Linked DNA regions of Homo sapiens: region 1 is linked to region 2. Evidence: promoter capture Hi-C in human tissues and cell types (Jung and others, 2019). All regions are on one chromosome and are shown on one strand. The core of a region is centred on a gene start or on the middle of the fragment in contact, and the rest is flanking DNA. Distances in the headings are between cores, read along the strand shown. Region 1 holds the start of LGALS1 (galectin 1). Region 2 holds the start of C22orf23 (chromosome 22 open reading frame 23).

Region 1 (4,190 bases), core at 1,242-3,741, 280 kb before region 2:
TTGATCTGGCAGAGAGGGGAGGCATGGGGGAGGGGCAGTGGAACTAGGCTGGGCCCCATCCAGCCCTTCCTATGGTTGAGGTTTTGGGGAGGCCCGGAGGAAAAAGTGAAGCTGCTGTGGTTGGTTTCCAAGCAGCCACTTGGTCTGGAAGGAGGGGTAAGGCACTCACAGGGGTGCAACCCCATCCCCTCTCTGGGTCCGCCTTGCGGCCCTACACACTCCCCTCTCATCCTGTACCAGAGTGGGCTTTGGGCATCTGGAGGAAGGTGCCCCTGAGAGGCAGGGTGGGTGTGTTGGCCTGGCTTCCAGATGTGAGTCACTCCTGGTCCGCATCTTCGTCCCTCTTTGGTGCCAGCAGTTTCAGAAGGGGGACGGCCAGGTGGAGAAGGAGGTCCCCGTGACAACCCCCCAGCATGCCCCTCATTTTGCCCAGTGCTCCCCACGCCCCTTCCTCCACCAGGTTCCTGAGTGTAAGGTGAGCACCCCTCCCACCCACCCTCAATTCTCTGCCACAGTGATCTTCCCTAGAGCCCAAATCTGGCCTCAGTACTCACCCTCCCTCTAGCCCTGGCTCCCCAGCCTCCTCCCATACAACAATGTCCAAGCCCTGTGCCCAGCCCATGAGGCCCTCCATGGTCCAGGTCCTGTTGGCTTCCCAGCCTCATCCCCGTTTTTCCCCCACATGCCCGGAACACTGTTCTCCAGCCCTGGCCTTCTCATTCTGGAGCTTCTGCCCATGGTGGAAAGCCAGGCACTTCTCCGCCTACCCTTCACGACCCACCTCCTTTACTCATGCAGCCGCCAGCCCACCATAGCACTTTCTCATGGCTTCCCTTACAGCCATCATCATCTACTTCTTTTTATTTTTATTTTTATTTTTTATTTTTTTTAATTGAGACTGAGTTTCACTCTTATTGCCCAGGCTGGAGTGCAATAGACTGATCTCGGATCACTGCAACCTCTGCCTCCTGGGTTCAAGCGATTCTCCTGCCTCAGCCTCAGGAGTAGCAGGGATTACAGGCATATGCCACCATGCCCAGCTAATTTTGTATTTTTAGTAGAGATGGGGTTTCTCCGTGTTGGTCAGGCTAGTCTCGAACTCCTAACCTTAGGTGATCCGCCCGCCTCGGCTTCCTAAAGAGCTGGGATTACCGGCGTGAGCCACTGCGCCCAGCCCATCATCTACTTCTTAACGTGGTTGTGGTCAGATTCCACCCCAACTATGCGCTCCTTGAGAGTGGGGACTGGGAGGGGTTCAGCTTTGAATCCTCAGAGCCCAGGGCCAGGTACATAGTAGGTGCTCAGTAAAATACCTGCTGAACACTCAGGGAAGGGAGGGCTGTGCCGGGCCTCAGAGGAGATGTTAAGAGAGCAGACAGGGTGGCCAGGCATGGTGGCTCACACCTGTAATCCCATTACTTTGGGAGGCTGAGGCGGGTGGATCAACTGAGGTCAGGAGTTTGAGACCAGCCTGGCCAACGTGGTGAAACCCCGTCTCTACTAAAAGTACATAAATTAGCCGGGTGTGGTGGTGGGGGCCTGTAGTCCCAGCTACTCGGGAGGCTGAGGCAGGAGAATCAGTTGAACCTGGGAGGCAGAGGTTGCAGTGAGCTGAGATCACGCCACTGCACTCCAGCCTGGGCGACAGAGCGAGACTCCATCTCAAAAATAAATATATAAATAAATAAAAATAAAAAAGAGAAAGGACAGGGTGCACAGAGCCAGGACCCCACCCCCTCCTGGTCTGGACCACCCTGGGCCATCTCCTAAGCTTGACACTCTCAGGCCTGAGGCTGTCAGGCCAGGGCGCTTTGACTATCCCCTGCCTGCCCCTGAACGCGGCCAAGCCCGAGGCCTTAGCCAAGCCCTGCAGCCTCAGGCTTGGCGCCCGGCCCAGCCTTTCTTTAGCCTTCCCGAGGAGCCAGCGAGAGAGCGCTGCAGCAGCCGCAGTCCTTGCTTCCGGGGAAGGCCCGGGTGGGGCCAGGGCCTGTGGTTAAGTCAGTGGCCCTCTGCAGACGCGCACGCAGCAGGAGCCACGCCCTGGTCCCTGCCCGGGAGTGGCCTGGTCTCCCCCAGCTCTGATTCCCTGAAGGACCCTGCACCTCCTCAGCCATCTTCTCTGGGCACCCCCTGAGCCCAGCCTGCTGGCCACAGGCCCCTTCCCGCCAACTTGTGGGCCTAGCTCATCATCAAACTATTTTCCACTGGCTTCCCCCAATCTCTGCCACAGCACAATTTTGGTGGGGAGGTGGAGAGGGATGAAGGAGAATAGGAGGTGGAGCTTGGACTCTGGCCGGGGGCGGCGGGGTGAGGGGGGGCAGCAGCTCGCCACTCTGATTGGTCACCTCTGCTCCAAAACTGGCTTCAAAATTCCACGGACTCCGCCCCCAGTGGCCCCCAGCCCTATCCTGACTTGCAATTGGCTGAACTTTCAGGGGGCGGGGCTCACCCGGTCCGGTCCAGTTAAAAGGGTGGGAGCGTCCGGGGGCCCATCTCTCTCGGGTGGAGTCTTCTGACAGCTGGTGCGCCTGCCCGGGAACATCCTCCTGGACTCAATCATGGCTTGTGTGAGTGTGGGGACCCCCCCCCAAGGTCCAGGGGATAGGGCAGGAACTGATGGCCAGAGGAGAGCTGGGCAGATCGGGAGCAGATTCTAGCCCCAGCTGTGTGGCCTGGAACCAGTGCCTTCTCTTTTCTGGACCTCAGTGGCCACATCTGTAAAATGGGGGTGGGCGCCATGGTCCCTCAAGGCCTTCTCTGCATTGATAATTGTCTGGATTCCTCCAGGGTCTGAAAGCACAGTTATTTCTGCCCAGGGTTGACATTCTGCAGCTCTCTGAGAAGTGAGCGTGGGAAGGGTGTGGCCAACTGGGGGACACCCAGGCCACTATCCCTTTCCCCCTCCTCCACCCCAAAGAGCCTCCTGTCCCCTCCCCCCTGCAGCTGTCCCGGTCACCAGGCCAGGGCAGAGTTACCCTCTGCTCCAGAGAACGCTGAAAAGTTGCCAGGACCCGAGACAAGCTGCCCAGGATGGGCCCTTCTAGGTCGGGGGTGGAGGGTGGTTGTGTCCAGGCTGGTGGCGGGGGGGGCGGGGGAAATTCCCTTCCACCACCCCCAAGCTGGGAGGTTGGGGTGGCAGGGAGGTGAGAATCTTCCTCGGGCCCCAGGGAAAGGGTTCAAGTTTCTGGCAGAAGAAACCACTCAAACCAGTTAACTCTTGCCCACCCACTCGGGGTGCCAGGGAACAGCAGTGCCCAGCAGTTTGCTCAATCTTGTTAACCCTGAGCCAGCCCAGCCACAGCCCGACTGCAGGGCTATTCTCCCTAATGCAGAGAGGCCGTGTTTTTCAGGGTCTCCTCTCTAGCCCCTGGGCCTCTTTGCAGAGAGGGGCTTGAAGGAGAATAGTGGGGTCGCCCGCCCCTAGCCACTTCCTCTCCAGCAGAGGGGCCGGCCCCTCCATTCAGTGTGACGGTGGGCCAAGTGTCGGCCCCTCCCCAGCCTGATCCTCTCCATCTGCGATGGGACAGAGCACCCCATCTCCCAAGTCACTCTTGAGTCCAAAATTCCCAAGCCAATCTGCAAAATCTTCTAGAGCCTGTCTTCTAGAACCTTCACGTTACAGACTGAAGCCAACCCCGGTGGGAATAGGGACTTTCCCAGGACCACATAGACAATCGGAGGCTGGAAATTACAGCTCAATCCTTTCCCCAGGCTTCCCCTTGGCTTGGTCAGAGGATGCCGGGCGGGAACAACCCCACTCCCACCCCCAGCCACCCCCGGACACTTCGAGCAGTGGAGGCCTTGTCCTCTAACCCGGCTGGGCCGGGGCTTGTCTGTGCAGGGTCTGGTCGCCAGCAACCTGAATCTCAAACCTGGAGAGTGCCTTCGAGTGCGAGGCGAGGTGGCTCCTGACGCTAAGAGGTGAGAAGTGAAGTCGGGGTGGTGGGCGGCAGGGACGGGCTTGGTCCAGCAGGGAGGGCGTGGCCGGCCAAGCCCACATCTCCTCCCTGGCCGGGAGCGGGTTAACGGCCAGCCGCCGATGCTGCGTTTTCTGGGTGACTCACTTCCCCCGCAGGGTCTGGGCGCCCCCACCGTTGCCGCCCCCTCCCCCGCTCCCTCCCTGCTGTAGCCTCTTAAACTAAACCAGCTGCAGCCTCGTCATCTGTAATACCTTGACTCCCCCGCCCCCA
Region 2 (4,369 bases), core at 1,312-3,811:
GTCTCTACTAAAAATACAAAAAATTAGCCAGGCGTGGTGGTGGGCACCTATAGTCTCAGCTACTTGGGAGGCTGAGGCAGGAGAATGGCATGAACCCGGGAGGCAGAAGTTGCAGTGAGCCGAGATTGCGCCACTGCACTCCAGCCTGGGCGACAGAGTGAGACTCTGTCTCAAAAAAAAAAAAGGTTTTGTGGAGATGAGGTCTTGTGGCTTGTGGCGTTGCCCGGGCTGGTCTTGAACTCCTGGGCTTAAGCCATCCTCCCACCTCAGCCTCCCAGTGTTGGAATTACAGGCATGAGCCACGTGCCCGGCTGTCTTTGTTTTTTTTATATGAGGTCCTCTCTCCCTTAACATGGAGAAGCATTAAAAGTGTGGCCCCAGATCCCTCTGTCCAGGAAGCCTCTGTGGACTGCCCCTTACTTTTCATGATGTCCATGATGTGGCGCTGCTGGATGTTCGTCAGTTTGGATTCCTTCATCATCACTGCACGACAAAGCATTCTATGAGGCCTCTTGGGCTGCAGGCGGATGCCTTCACCTGACACCCTACTGAAATTTAAAACCCTACATCCTAGCCCCATTCTGCACTGAGCATGCCTTCTCTATCTTTCCTGCTTCGTTTTTTCTATAGCACTTACGACCACCTAAAATTCTATATATTTTATTTTATTGTTATCCTTCTATATTAGCTGTATGATAAGAATTTTTGCTGGTTTAATAAAATTTCTGCCCTCTGTTAAATATTTTTTCCTCTTTCTCTTTTTTTTTTTTTTTTTTTTTTTTTTTTTTTTTTTGAGATGGAGCTTCCATCTTGTTGCCCAGGCTGGAGTGCAGTGGCGCGACCTCAGCTCACTGCAATCTCCACCTCCTGGGTTCAAGGAATTCTCCTGCCTCAGCCTCCCAAGTAGCTGGGATTACAGACATGCGCCACCACGCCCGGCTAATTTTGTACTTTTAGTAGAGACTGGGTTTCTCCATGTTGGTCAGGCTGGTCGTGAACTCCTAACCTCAGGTGATCTGCCCACCTTGGCCTCCCAAAGTGCTGGGATTACCGGTTTGAGCCACCTCATTTTCTTTCACTGCTGTATCCCCAGCACCTAAAACAGAGTCTAAGGCACATGGTAGACTTAAAAATGTTGTTGTTGGAAAAAAACAAAAAAGTTGTTGAGTAAAAGAACACATGAATACTTGTTCATCATGTTTCAGGGGCTGGAGCTACAATTGTGGGCCGAAACAGGCACGGTTCCTGCCTGATGAAATTCATGATCTGGAGGGATAGATGGGACACCAAATAACTGACTACAGCTTGTGCTAAGCCCAGTGAAGGAAAATGTGTGAGGGCACATAACAGTTGATCCTACTGTGGTGGTGAGGAGCAGAAGTCTTCCTCGGGAAAGTTGAAAGTGTGATCTAAAGGATGCATAGGAGTTAACTACTCTAAAAATTTTAGTTCTTTGACTTTTGGCAAGGTGTAGCACCTTGAACCTTCCCCTCCCCCCCGCCCCGCCCCGCCCCCGAATAAGGCATATGCAGTAGAATTTTGAAGCTTTCTGAACCCCAGGCTCCTTATCTGTAAAGGAAAATAGTGCTAAGCCACAGGTCAGGTACGGGGGAACTGAGTTACAGAGGGTAACTACCACCATTCTTCTCTCATCCTTTAACTCAGGGGTCCCCAACCCTCCGTCCGTGGACTGGTACCAGTCCCTGGCCTGTTAGGAACCGGGCCGCACAGCAGGAGGTGAGCGGCAGGCTAGCGAGCCTCACCGCCTCCTTTCAGGTCAGTGACGGCCTTAGATTCTCATAGGAGCGCGAACCCTATTGTGAACTGCGCACGCGAGGGATCTAGGTTGCACGCTCCTTATGAGAATCTAACTAATACCTGATGATCTGAGGTGGAACAGTTTCATCCCGAAACCATTCCCCACACCTCCGTCAGTGGAAAAATTGTCTTCCACGAAACCGGTCCCTGGTGCCAAAAAGGCTGGGATCGCTGCTTTAACGGACTGACCTCTGAGCAGCTCGCAGGTCCCCGGGGTGTAAGTGATGGTCTTGGGGCGGCGCCGGAACCCAGTTCCTTTGGTCACTACCTCCATCTGCTTCTGTGAAGCCATGGGAGGACTCTGAGGAGGGAAAGACGCAATGACACACCCCCTGTCTCCTGTCCCTAATCTCTGTTCCCCGACGCCCAACACCCCCAGAAGTCTGGAAGCGGGGATCGAGCCAGAGAATGATGCCGCCAGTTAATATTGCGACAGTGCCCAAACCTCCCATCCAGACACACAGATACACACACACAGTCCTCATTCTGACCCAGCGCCTGTGGCAGGGAAGTCTCCTCGGGAGGGAGTGTTAACACAGCCATGGTCACAACAGTACCCACTGAGTGATATGCCAAAATTGAAATTTCACCCTAAGACCCTCTCTGGGTGCTCCCCTCTCCACATAGAAGTGGGCTCCCGGAGGCGGTGACCACTGCTTTACAGCCGCATCCGCACCGGTGCCACGCAGAAATACTGCGCGATCTGGGCTGCTGGAGCTGGCAGCTAGCGCCTCTCGCTACTATAGAAACGCGCACACACCAGTCAGCGCATGCGCACTTTCCCCGCTCTGTCCTGCCTCCCGGAAGTGATTTCCTCTGGGTTACGGCGCAGGCGCAAGATAAGCTAGGAGCCGCGCGAGTCGTAGTGTCGCTGTTTGCGGGTCTCCGCGCGGGACCGGGGCGCAGCGGGGTCGCTGAGGCGAGGGTGTCATGTCAGACAACGAGGACAAGTGAGTGCGGGAGCGGAGTGGCCTTTGCGGCAACCTTGGAAGGGGCGGATGAGGCAAGGCTTGGGTCGGCTGAGGAGCCTGGCGTCTAGGGGCAATGTCTGAGGGGACTGGGGTCCTGAGGGGGCCGGCGGAGCCGAGGAAGGGAAGGGCGGGCGACCCAGGAGCACAGCCCCGGCTGGAGGCACAGGAGGGCCCAGGCTCGAGGGTCCAGAGGGGATCCGTAGAAAAGGTGTCCTTCAGCAAATGTTCCAGCGAGCCGGGCTCTGTATCATGCAGTGGGAATATTGAGGTGAATGAACAATCGTCCCTGCCTCTCCACGTGCTCACTTTCTAGAAAAGGGGTCACAGGCCCATAAGTAAGCAAGCAAGCAGGTAACGGTGGTCGCGTGAGCTTCCCCAGTTCTAGACGTATGTAGTATAGGAGTACTCCAGAGGAGGGTCTGGGGCAGCTCCACCGGGTGGCATTAAATAAAAGTCTGGGACGGTCCTTTGCAGTAATTTTTTTTTTTTTTTGAAACAGAGTCTTGCTCTGTCGCCCAGGCTGGAGTGCAGTGGCGCGATCTCGGCTCACTGCAGCCTCCACCTCCGGGGTTCAAGGGATTCTCCTGCCTCAGCCTCCCGACTAGCTGGGATTATGGGCGTGCACCACCACGCCTTGCTAATTGCTTGTAGTTTTAGTAGAGACGGGTTTCACCATGTTGGCCAGACTGGCCTCGAACTCCTGAGCTTGTGATCCACCCGCCTCGGCCTCCCAAAGTGCTGGGATCACAGGCGTGAGCCACCGTGCCCGGCCTGCTTGTAGTAATCTAGATGAGAGAAGTCAGTAGCTTATAGTAGGGTGGTAGGAGTAGAGGTGGTGAGAACTGGTTTTGAATTCTGGATATATTACTATTTTAAAGATAGAGCCCAAAAATTACCTGTGGGATATGTGGGTGCAAAGAGAGCTAGTCTGAAGATAAAAATAAGAAACGTGTGGGATTGCTACCCCATTCCCAGTGAGTGTCAGTAGAGAAGAGGAGATGACCCGTGGCTGAGCATTAGGGCATTTGGACATTGAGTGCTTGGGGGAAAAGAGAAGCCGGGGAGGTGGGGGAACACCAAGAGGGTGAGGTGTCCTTGGAGTCAAGTGAGGAGAGCAAGTGGCCTAATGTGCCAGCTGATAGATCAGGCTAAATGAGAAGGAGAGTTGGCCATTGGATTTAGCAACGTGGAGATCATTAATGAGCTTGGAAAGTGGTTTTGATGGAGCTGTTGGGGTGAAAGGCTTTTTGGAGTGAGATTATGACAAAATGGGAAGAGAGGAAGATAGTGAGGGTGGACAGCTCTTTCACACATTTTTGCTTCAAAGGACACCATGGAATTAGGGCTATAGGGGGAGAGAGAAGAGAAATAAGGGTTTTTTTTTTTTTTTTTTTAGATGAGGAAAAGCACATGTTGAAATGCTGATGGGGCCGGGTGCTGTGGCTTACACCTCTAATCCCAGCACTTTGGGAGGCCGAGGAGGGTGGATCACCTGAGGCCAGGAGTTCGAGACCAGCCTGGTCAACATGGTGAAACCCCATCTTTACTAAAAATACAAAAATTAGCTGGGCATGGTGGCG

Evidence for each region. Contacts are between HindIII fragments. The study calls those that stand out against the background at their distance.
Region 1: the fragment with the promoter of LGALS1 here is called in contact with the fragment with the promoter of C22orf23 in region 2 in 1 of the 25 tissues and cell types used here (dorsolateral prefrontal cortex).

What each region holds. Positions count from the first base shown.
Region 1 is chr22:37,673,145-37,677,334 of GRCh38, forward strand. It overlaps LGALS1 (galectin 1), which reads left to right and starts at 2,492. Exons shown (of 4, transcript NM_002305.4): 1 at 2,492-2,567; 2 at 3,842-3,921. The coding sequence starts at 2,559. RefSeq lists silencers at 2,295-2,434, 3,955-4,190. The HindIII fragment of the contact is 16,498 bases long and covers 1-4,190 here.
Region 2 is chr22:37,951,040-37,955,408 of GRCh38, forward strand. It overlaps C22orf23 (chromosome 22 open reading frame 23), which reads right to left and starts at 2,562. Exons shown (of 7, transcript NM_032561.5): 1 at 2,409-2,562; 2 at 2,008-2,119; 3 at 421-483. The coding sequence starts at 2,110. It overlaps POLR2F (RNA polymerase II, I and III subunit F), which reads left to right and starts at 2,660. Exons shown (of 5, transcript NM_021974.5): 1 at 2,660-2,768. The coding sequence starts at 2,749. RefSeq lists a silencer at 2,826-2,895. The HindIII fragment of the contact is 12,825 bases long and covers 1-4,369 here.